2 separate regions of the Homo sapiens genome follow, and region 2 is linked to region 1. Evidence: promoter capture Hi-C in human tissues and cell types (Jung and others, 2019). All regions are on one chromosome and are shown on one strand. Each heading gives the region's core, a stretch centred on a gene start or on the middle of the fragment in contact. The rest is flanking DNA. Distances are from core to core; before and after follow the strand shown.

Evidence for each region. The method cuts DNA at HindIII sites, captures the fragments that hold promoters and counts their contacts. A contact is called where the count stands out against the background at its distance.
Region 2: a fragment that was not itself captured here is called in contact with the fragment with the promoter of TYR in region 1 in 1 of the 25 tissues and cell types used here (dorsolateral prefrontal cortex).

Annotation. Positions count from the first base shown.
Region 1 is chr11:89,175,172-89,180,950 of GRCh38, forward strand. It overlaps TYR (tyrosinase), which reads left to right and starts at 2,704. Exons shown (of 5, transcript NM_000372.5): 1 at 2,704-3,601. The coding sequence starts at 2,783. The HindIII fragment of the contact is 5,969 bases long and covers 1-3,818 here.
Region 2 is chr11:87,930,248-87,935,958 of GRCh38, forward strand. It overlaps a transcript of RAB38 not described here. Among named protein-coding and RNA genes, the nearest start is that of LINC02711, 210 kb to the left of the region's middle. The HindIII fragment of the contact is 3,215 bases long and covers 2,835-5,711 here.

The DNA of each region.
Region 1 (5,779 bases), core at 1,454-3,953:
TAATTTTCTCTTATAGCAACCTAAAAAGTAATTTAATCCAGAAAAAAAGTTATTTAAAGTAATGTAGTTAAAATTATTATTTAAAATCACTAAAATTAAAATAGTATTTTAAGAGGCAATATCCTTCCTGATGATAGAGATTTTTGTTGTGCTTACCATCACATTCCCATCTCTCCCCATGTCTGCAAGTAAATACTTGCAGAGTATTTACTGAACCCCTAATTCTACTTTATAGAGCATTGCAGTAATTTCATGTCAGGTCATACAATAATCTCCCAAAATAGGATAGGACCCTTTCAAATCCCACAACTGAAGATACCTAAAGAATGTACATCTAGAGTCAGGAAGAAAGCACTCTAAATGGGATTTAATATTTAGGAACCCAAGACTGGCAATAAGACTGAAGACTACAACACGTGTAGGCCAGAGGAGACAGTGGCCTATACTGGGGACAAATAAAGAGGTCTGTCCTATTTAAGAAAATCAACCCTGTAAAGGAAATTAATAGGACTAAGTACATTTTAGTAATTCCTCTAAGCAGGCTCTAAAGATTATGAAAAATAGACGGGACAGCAGACACAAAAGCCCTTAAAGAGCATGATGAAGACTTTCTAAGTTATTTCACTGGAAGCCTGATAGTGGGGCAAGTGTAAGGCAAAATTCTTAATTAAATTGAACATGATAAGTTGAATTCTGTCTTCGAGAACATAGAAAAGAATTATGAAATGCCACATGTGGTTACAAGTAATGCAGACCCAAGGCTCCCCAGGGACAAGAAGTCTTGTGTTAATCTCTTTGTGGCTCTGAAAGAAAGAGAGAGAGAAAAGATTAAGCCTCCTTGTGGAGATCATGTGATGACTTCCTGATTCCAGCCAGAGGCAGCATTTCCATGGAAACTTCTCTTCCTCTTCACCCACACACTGCTCCATGTACCTGCAAAGCCTGTTCTGTCTCAAAAAAGTTGTTTGGATGAGCCGTGACTTTTTTTTTTCTTAAATAATGAGACAAACTCCAGAAAAAGAGAAAAAAGCAGAGCAGTCTGACATTCCGGCATCATCGAAATAGTGATGGCTTTTCCTAGAATGCTTCAGCTAAGGACCCAAATACTAATGATCTCCTCAAAGCTTTCACTTTCTTTTACTTTTTCATTAATTTCAGTGGACCCCCAAACTTTAAGTATGGAAGAGGACAAAGAAGGAAGCTTCAGAGGGGCAACTTTGATTTGACTACTCTTTTTGTCACTCTTCAGCTCACAAAAGAGCTCACTTTAGTTCAAAACACAAAGTCTTTAAGCCCCTCCATAGATTGGTCCCAGGTTTAATTTTCTATGATGTGTGGAGGCCTCAGTTTAATGCTCCAACTTGATAGATGAAACACAGTTCCCACCTCTACACATTTCCCCTGTCTCAGGAGTTGTATATATTCTCAGTTGTCTGTCCAACTTATGCCCACTCTTTGAGATATTAATCAAGGCACTCCCTTGATAACACTTGCATATTATTATCAAAATTATGCAATTCTTTCTAATATCAGCCCACAAATACATCTCTTCCATTAAAAGTTTGACTTAATTATCTATACTACTCATTTGAAAACTAACATAGTTAAGTTGTATTTTTAGCCATGAATTTCAGTTTCCCTAGCTCACTATACACAGAGAAGGAACTTTTGAAATAATTGAGATGATCAAAAATATTTGCTGAAGAAATATATTTCTCCTTTTTCATTCACTCACTAATTGAGAATGTCTTTGCACAAAACACATTGCAAAAACATTTTCAAAAAAATTCCTAATTTCTAGAATTGATAGGAAAAACAATATGGCTACAGCATTGGAGAGAGAGAGAAAGGAGAGAGGAGAAAGGAGAGAGAGAGAAAGGAGAGAGGAGAGAGACAGAGGAGAGAGAGAGAGGATAGAGGGGAGAGAGAGAGAGGAGAGAGACAGAGGAGAGAGAGAGAGGATAGAGGGGAGAGAGAGGGAGAGGGAGAGAGAGGGAGAGAGAGGGAGAGAGAGAGAGAGAGAGGGAGAGAGAGAGAGAAAGAGAGAGAGAGGGAGAGAGAGAGAGAGAGCTCTTTAACGTGAGATATCCCCACAATGAAGCAAATCGCCCAGTTATCAAAGTGAGCTATCCTTAGGAGTTGTCAGAAAATGCATCAGGATTATCAGAGAAAAGTATCAGAAAGATTTTTTTTTCTGATACGTTGTATAAAATAAACAAACTGAAATTCAATAACATATAAGGAATTCTGTCTGGGCTCTGAAGACAATCTCTCTCTGCATATTGAGTTCTTCAAACATTGTAGCCTCTTTATGGTCTCTGAGAAATAACTACCTTAAACCCATAATCTTTAATACTTCCTAAACTTTCTTAATAAGAGAAGCTCTATTCCTGACACTACCTCTCATTTGCAAGGTCAAATCATCATTAGTTTTGTAGTCTATTAACTGGGTTTGCTTAGGTCAGGCATTATTATTACTAACCTTATTGTTAATATTCTAACCATAAGAATTAAACTATTAATGGTGAATAGAGTTTTTCACTTTAACATAGGCCTATCCCACTGGTGGGATACGAGCCAATTCGAAAGAAAAGTCAGTCATGTGCTTTTCAGAGGATGAAAGCTTAAGATAAAGACTAAAAGTGTTTGATGCTGGAGGTGGGAGTGGTATTATATAGGTCTCAGCCAAGACATGTGATAATCACTGTAGTAGTAGCTGGAAAGAGAAATCTGTGACTCCAATTAGCCAGTTCCTGCAGACCTTGTGAGGACTAGAGGAAGAATGCTCCTGGCTGTTTTGTACTGCCTGCTGTGGAGTTTCCAGACCTCCGCTGGCCATTTCCCTAGAGCCTGTGTCTCCTCTAAGAACCTGATGGAGAAGGAATGCTGTCCACCGTGGAGCGGGGACAGGAGTCCCTGTGGCCAGCTTTCAGGCAGAGGTTCCTGTCAGAATATCCTTCTGTCCAATGCACCACTTGGGCCTCAATTTCCCTTCACAGGGGTGGATGACCGGGAGTCGTGGCCTTCCGTCTTTTATAATAGGACCTGCCAGTGCTCTGGCAACTTCATGGGATTCAACTGTGGAAACTGCAAGTTTGGCTTTTGGGGACCAAACTGCACAGAGAGACGACTCTTGGTGAGAAGAAACATCTTCGATTTGAGTGCCCCAGAGAAGGACAAATTTTTTGCCTACCTCACTTTAGCAAAGCATACCATCAGCTCAGACTATGTCATCCCCATAGGGACCTATGGCCAAATGAAAAATGGATCAACACCCATGTTTAACGACATCAATATTTATGACCTCTTTGTCTGGATGCATTATTATGTGTCAATGGATGCACTGCTTGGGGGATCTGAAATCTGGAGAGACATTGATTTTGCCCATGAAGCACCAGCTTTTCTGCCTTGGCATAGACTCTTCTTGTTGCGGTGGGAACAAGAAATCCAGAAGCTGACAGGAGATGAAAACTTCACTATTCCATATTGGGACTGGCGGGATGCAGAAAAGTGTGACATTTGCACAGATGAGTACATGGGAGGTCAGCACCCCACAAATCCTAACTTACTCAGCCCAGCATCATTCTTCTCCTCTTGGCAGGTAAGATATGCTAGATATACGATGTCAGAGTAGGGAGGAACCTTAACAATCACTTCTTCAGGCAGGGTATAAACTTCTCACCTGAACACTCATTGCAGCCCCCATCAAGGACAGAAATGGTGCCCTGTTAAGAACTCTCAATGTATCTTGTATTTTTCCTTTATAGCACACTTTAGATATTTGTGTAATTATTTGTTTAATGACTTCTACTAGGTTTCTAAACTGCAATGAACAGAGTACTTGATTCATTATTGCATTTCCCAGAACATAGTATGGTGCCTTTAAAAATGGCAATAGTGCATTATGTATTTTGTGAATTGAATAAATGAGTGAATGAATGAATATCTGGATGATTAAAAAAACAAATGATATACACTAATGTCTCTGAAAAATAAAATTATTATTCACAACAGGATTCATATGGTGTACAAATTAAAAATGCAAATTCCTGGCCTTATCCCAGACTAATTGGTCAGAATCTTCAGGAGAGAGTCCCGAGAAGGCACAATTTACTAAATGTCTATGGTGATTCTTTTAATCAGGAATGTTTGGGAAATAATTATTGGATTAGATCTTCATTTTTGAAAGTATGAAGATCCTGAGGCTTAAACAGGTAAATAATGAAGATGGCTAATATTCATTGAACATCTAGCATGTGCAAACCCCGTGGCAAGTGTTTTTGTGCATTCGTTCATTTCATGCTCTTATCAGTCTTTCCCTATTTTAGAGGTTATAAAGGTATCAGGTAACTTGTATAAGATCATACAGCTAATAAGCAGCAAAAAAAAAATCACATTTATTCTCTAATAGTCCAGCTGTATGACCACTGTATCCTATTTCCAAGGATGTGACTGCTGTGATATCTTTAGCTAAAGGATCTGGTTCATTCTGTCTCACTTTTTCTTTAGGCTGCATTAGAAGTTAGCTTTCTTTCTCAGTCCTTGAAAACTTTAGATAAAATATGAAGCATTACTATTTGGAATTGAATTCCTATTTCATCTATTCTGAATTTTTCATTCTGAATTAGGGGCAAATGGTAACCAAAGAAATATGTGCTTAATTATTTATCATTTTAAAACCATATGTTAAAGGAATGCTTTTCTGCCTGTCTTCCAAAAATTTCTAATACAGCACTTTTGACTAGCAATGCTCTATGAAATTAAGCCCAATATGTGAATGGGATGGGAAGAATCTTGCACTCAATTTCCCACAATCTGCAGTTTTGAAATGTAGATGGCCTTCTCCGCCCAACCAAGTTTGTACCCCATCCCAATGGAGTCTACTGAAGTTCATTTAAAAAATAGCCACTGTATAATTTCTGGTGTTATTAGTCAGCTATTTACCAAATGTAATGGGTTTTGTGCAGGAAAGGCTAGAAAAAATGTGCTTGGAAAAAAATCTATTTCAATAAGCTTTCAGACCTCCTACCTTAATCTATAATGTGCAAACTCTCATCTAGCTCTTATATCCTCTGTTCCTGTTTAAAAAACTGCCAGGATTGGACATGGGATTTTCAGTCAGTTATGATGCTTTATTTAACTATGTGGCTTAACTTGACCCAGAAAGGTTGGAGGACTGTCTAAATTACCAAAATAAGCTGCAACATCCACAGGAAATCTTAATAGATAGATACACATTAATTTTTAATTACATGAGATGTGTAATACCAGATGCTATCCACAACTGTATGAGTATTATTTTCCTAATTACTTATTAATTGTCAAGCAGAACTTTTTCCTTTTTCTCTCTTCATGAATGTGTTCAATTTTAATACTCTCTAGAAAAAAAAAAAAGTGTGTCAAGTCAGTAAGCCCTGAACTGAAATTGATACAATTATCAACTTCAACCTTGTTCTATGATTAAATTGCTGTGTAGAAACAGGTTTCAAAAATAAAATTAGAAAACAGAGTGGAAGGAAGATGACTGAAGAGAAACAAGCAAACCACAGTTTAAGAAAGGTGAAATGAGCATTTGCTGCTCACCTACTATGTTTTAGTAGTGTCAAGGGCTTATTAGTGGCAAAGGTGACAGTCAAACCCCACTCACATTGGCTGTTTCCATTCCTTCACACAGCCTCTCTGGTTACAAAGTCCTTAAAATAGTTAAGATCGATTGCTTACATTGCTTTAATTCAGAGTTCTCAATGTCAAAATCACCTAGGAAGCTTCCAAAAAACCA
Region 2 (5,711 bases), core at 3,192-5,691, 1.2 Mb before region 1:
ATCGCCATTCTAACTGGTGTGAGATGGTATCTCATTGTGGTTTTGATTTGCATTTCTCTGTTGGCCAGTGATGATGAGTATTTTTTCATGTGTCTTTTGGTTGCATAAATGTCTTCTTTTGAGAAGTGTCTGTTCATATCCTTCGCCCACTGGTTGATGGGGTTGTTTGTTTTTTTCTTGTAAATTTGTTTGAGTTCATTGTAGATTCTGGATATTAGCCCTTTGTCAGATGAGTAGATTGCAAAAATTTTCTCCCATTCTCTAGGTTGCCTGTTCACTCTGATGGTACTTTCTTTTGCTGTGCAGAAACTCTTTAGTTTAATTAGATCCCATTTGTCAATTTTGGCTTTTGTTGCCATTGCTTTTGGTGATTTAGACATGAAGCATTTGACCATGCCTATGTCCTGAATGGTATTGCCTAGGTTTTCTTCTAGGGTTTTAATGGTTTGAGGTCCAATGTTTAAGTCTTTAATCCATCTTGAATTAATTTTTGTACAAGGTATAAGGAAGGGATCCAGTTTCAGCTTTCTATATATGGCTAGCCAGTTTTCCCAGCACCATTTATTAAATAGGGAATCCTTTCCCCATTTCTTGTTTTTGTCAGGTTTGTCAAAGTCAGATGGTTGTAGATATGTGGCATTATTTCTGAGGGCTCTGTTCTGTTCCATTGGTCTATATCTCTGTTTTGGTACCAGTACCATGCTGTTTTGGTTACTGTAGCCTTGTAGCATAGTTTGAAGTCAGGTAGCGTGATGCCTCCAGCTTTGTTCTTTTGGCTTAGGATTGACTTGGCAATGCGGGTTCTTTTTTGGTCCCATAGAACTTTAAAGTAGTTGTTTCCAATTCTGTGAAGAAAGTCATTGTTAGCTTGATGGGGATGGCATTGAATCTATAAATTACCTTGGGCAGTATGGCCATTTTCACGATATTGATTCTTCCTACCCATGAGCATGGAATGTTCTTCCATTTTGGATAATAAACTCAAGATAATCTTTAAAGGCAGAAATAATACTAAAAGATAAGCTATTATGGAAGGAAGGAAGATAGATGCAAGTTGGTTTGGGTTGTCTATTTTTGTTTGAGGCCCTTTCATCATACCTACTGTCATCCTTATTGCAAGTACGAGAAGAAAGAATTCCATATAAGATGAGAAGGTGTAGACAGCTCCACTCAGGCTGATGCTTTGCACTAGGTTGGGAAATGTGTCTACTTTTGCTTGGGAGGGATCCAGAGCAGGGAGGCAATTACCAGGAGTAGGACTGAGAAATCACTTGTTCTTTCAGAGGCCACTGGCCACCAGGTACCATATGGCTGCTTCCATGTTGTGAATTCCCTGAACACCAGGCACACTGGCATTCAAATGTCAGAACAGAACAATTTTCAAAACCAAGCAAATTATATTTGGATTACCCATAATATCAGTTCCTTCTGTTAGCTTTGATGATTCAGAGAGAATATATGTGTTAAATTAACAAGTGTATTAAGAACTTTTGACATCTGTAAACTTTTCCTTAGCTGGTACACCAAATGCCTCTATAATTCTTGCCTACAATCTGTGTGTTTAAGTGTGGACAAGAACAAAATGAGATGAATGTGTGTTCTCTGACTAACGAAGCAGCACCTCCATTTACTGTAAGCAGAAGGGGCCAGGGAGTAAAGGAGAAAGGAGGATATTTGGACAATGCACAGGAGGGGTGGGGTGGGGTGGTGAGGGAGAATGGCAGGCTCCTGGATCATCATGATCCAGGATTTTGGTGCTGCTTCTGAGGATGAAATTGTTTGCTCTCTCCATGTCCCAGTTCCAGGTCCCTAGGTTTGAACACCATGTCCACCCCAAGCCTACCAGCTATAGCCAGGGAGATTAGCTAAATAAGAGATTCAAGGGGGGCAAGGGGAGGGAGAACATTAGGACAAATACCTAATGCATGCTGGGCTTGAAACCTACATGAGAGGTTGATAGGTACAGCAAACCACCATGGCACATGTATACCTATGTAACAAACCTGCACGTTCTGCACATGTATCCCAGAACTTAAAGTAAAATTTTTAAAAAAAGAGAGAGAGATTCAGGCTGAGAAGCAACAACTTAAGAGTTGTTGAGGACAGAGTTTTGTGCCACCAGAAGGGAGAGAAAAACCTGGAACATGGCAGAAAGGCATCATGAAGAGAAGTTTGTGCAGGGGTTTCTAACATGTCTGGGTAGCATGGTGACTCTGCATGCTTAGTTCTCTATAAGCATAACCAAGCTGTCACAACAGTTTCCTTCTATCATCTCACCAAATCTCTTCTGAACTTCCTTTAGTTCTTCTAATGGATTTTTGCCCAGAAAAATAAGATACATCTCACTTAGATCCTAGTGTAATCAGCCTCCCATGAAAAACCCAACAAAACAATTTCTCAAAGCTTGCTCTCTGCTGTGTTAGATAAGCATTTAGATCCCATCTACAAGCATCCTCTTCTCCCCATCCTTTTGTGTAAGTACAGCTGCAGCTAGTTGTCCAGTGTGTAGGCAAAAACCACCTGACTCATCTACTCATACCTTAATGGCAGCTGTGTCCCAGGCTTCAAACTGTACTGGTTACTCAGATCTTCTAAATTGGGCATTCCTAATTCTAGAATCAGCAGCAAAGGGACCTAGGGACAGGTCATATTATTGAAATTTTATTTTCTTAATTTAGAGTCAAGTCATCTTGGTTGCAGTTATGAGAACACAGAATCCACAGTCTGCTAAGTTATATTTTCTGAAGAGCCCTATCAATGACCTTAAAAAGACAACAGCACCATCTGTTATGCACCACCCACAATATCACGTATGGAGGTTCATCTTAGAACAAAGATGAATCCTCAGTGAATACAGCAAGAAATAAACTGACTCAAGTTCCAGATTAGCCAGGCAACTGCTAGGTGTTTTGAAAGCAGAGAAGCCAAATCAGAGATATGAAAAGAAATTAGTACTCAGGTAGAGATGCTACAACATGGCTTTATAACAGAAATAACATATAGTGGGCTTTTTGTTGTTGTTGTTTCCCCAGATCCATTCCTTTTTGTAGCACTGGTATCCTCATTTTCCTCTGAGCCGTTCCTTGCCCACTCCCATCTCATATTTTTCAGGTAAAGTTGATTTCACTCACAGAATACATGAGTAGAACATGTGTTCTGGTCCAGCTTAGTTACCTCATTCTATCCTGTTTGACTCAGTGCAGTTTAAAAATGGGCACATGTCTCAAAGTAGGTCTGCCAGAGAAGGCACAACCTGAAGACTTAAGCTTTCAGAAAAACAAACTCTCAACTGCTAGACAGGAATGAGATTCTGTAAATGTGAAGCTTCCTTGGTGTCTCTGGGCAGAATTGAGAACTGAAGTAGCTCTGAGGAAACAGCCAAGAGGTGGATAACATTTTTTGAGCTGGGAATCAATTCATACTTAAAAAGAAGCCTAGATTTTTCAGTTTGCATGGAGCCAAAAAAAAAAAAAAATTCCCTTTAGCATAAGCAGATCCACCAATGGCAAGACGGGAAGTCCTACCTACATTGGCATTTTCCAATTTAGGAAATATTAGCTGAAACACCTTTCTCTACCCAAGCTTCTCTGCCTTGTTGAGAAGTTGAGAAGCAACAACTTAAGAGTTCTTGAGGACGGAGTTTGCTGCCACCAGAAGGCAGAGAAAAACCTGGAACATGGCAGAAAGGCATCATGAAGAGAAGTTTGTGCAGGGGTTTCTACCACGTCTGGGTAGGGTGGTCCTTTCTTAGTCTGGGGTTTCTACCATGTCTGGGTAGGGTGTTCCTTTCAAGTCCTTTCTTACACAGCCAATAACCTTCCAGCATCTCCCTGAATTAATCCGTGATTGTCCTGGACCACTCAGTGAAGCACTTCAGTATAATCAGCCTTTTTATAGAGGTCTTCCAAGTTAAACTGAAATCTGGATGTGTATCTCAATTACAAATAACATGCCTGTGTGCTTGAAACAGACACTGCAATGACTAAAAGGTAAATCCATGAAATAGGGGCCTATTTATTACCTACAGAAGCACCATTTAAGACACAATTGAAGTTTCAACTTGATTCTTTCTAACTTTCGATCCCCCTTTGGTATGATAATTATACATTTTCTAGTAAAATTATTTCTGCCATGTCATCATAACAGATTGGATTAAAAGACAAATAAATGAATTATATGCTAACCTCATAGGTAGCCTGGCAGAAAATCCACCCAAAAGTGTTATTTTATACCTAGTGGCAAAAAGTTGACCCAGTTGAATTTATTATTTGGGAAAACATAAATGTCATGTTAACATAAAAGGCTATTGATTTGAGGCAGTACTCTCGTGCAATGCTAAATTACTTTCCTAGTTCTGCCTGTGGTCAGTCTCAAAGGAAGTGAAGCTTTCAGTCTGTACATCTTCCAAGCCTACCACTTGTCTCCATCTGTGCTTATAAAAATCTTGCACTCATGAATATTATTTATATGAGTATAATATTAAAGTCTGATCAGGAAAAAAGAAACCATCTGAGGTATTTAACAGAAAAAAATACAAAGGTTTGGTTTAAAATACATTAGGGAATAGAAAAGATGAAAAAGGAATGTTAAGGTAACACTGAGGTAGCAGTTGCAGCAAACAGCTACAATGGGAAGAGATGGGGCAGCGATGAGATGGGATAACAAAGAGAAGAGTTTGGAGATATTGGAATGTAGAAGCTTGAGGAAGAGACTGTGTGGAGCCTGGAAACAGTGTCCTGTGGCCACGGTGTAGAGCCCTTGCCAGGCTAATGCTGGTAGAAACTGCAAGCACTTCGGGAAGGGCGGGTCTCTCCTCCCTTCTTCTTGTCTTCCAGTCTCCTTCAAGGGGACACAAACCAAAAAGCTGTTCTAGAAGATTTGGAGAAATTAAGGGTTGCTATATGACAAGTTACTGAAAGTTAAATATTAGATATCCTTTTAAAAAACGTCTCCTCAGTCATTTCATCCATGTGAAAATCCTCTTTGGCCTTATTTTGAGGGGGCTCTTCCAATATGCTCCTGATCCTTTGATTTTGAACTTCCACACATCTTCCCCCTTTTCTTCATTTCCTGATCCCTTTACTGTTTCTCTCCTGGGATTCCCCTAATGATTCAAAATTATTATTTTCTATAATTCAACCCTCTTCACCCCCATCCTTTCTCATTTCAGACCATGCCCTTCAGAAGACTTCTTTTTCACACAGATTTCTGTAGAGTTTGTTATTCTGTCCTGAGATTAATTTTGTTCCTTTTTTGGAATAAGAACCAGTTACAGTTAATTATTATTTTTATTATTATTTTATTTTGAATTAATTATAGATTCACATGAAGTTGTAAGAAATAATGCAGATAGGTCCAGTGTAGCCTTACTGTTTTCCCCAGTGGTAACCTCTTGAAAACTTATAGTACAATACAATCAAGATGTTGACATGGATATAGCCAAGATTTAGAACATTTCCATTACCATAAGGATCTCTCTTGTCCTTTTATAGTCACACCCACTCCCCACCCCTACTCCCTGCATCCATGAACCTGTTCTTCATTTTATAATTTTGTCATTTGAAGAATGATATGTAAATAGAATGAAACATTATGCACTCCACTTAGAATTGATTTTTATTCACTCAGAGTGGTTTTAATTTACACTTTAATAGCTAATGATGTTTTATATCGTTCATGTGCTTATTTGCTATCTGTATCTTGGTGAAATG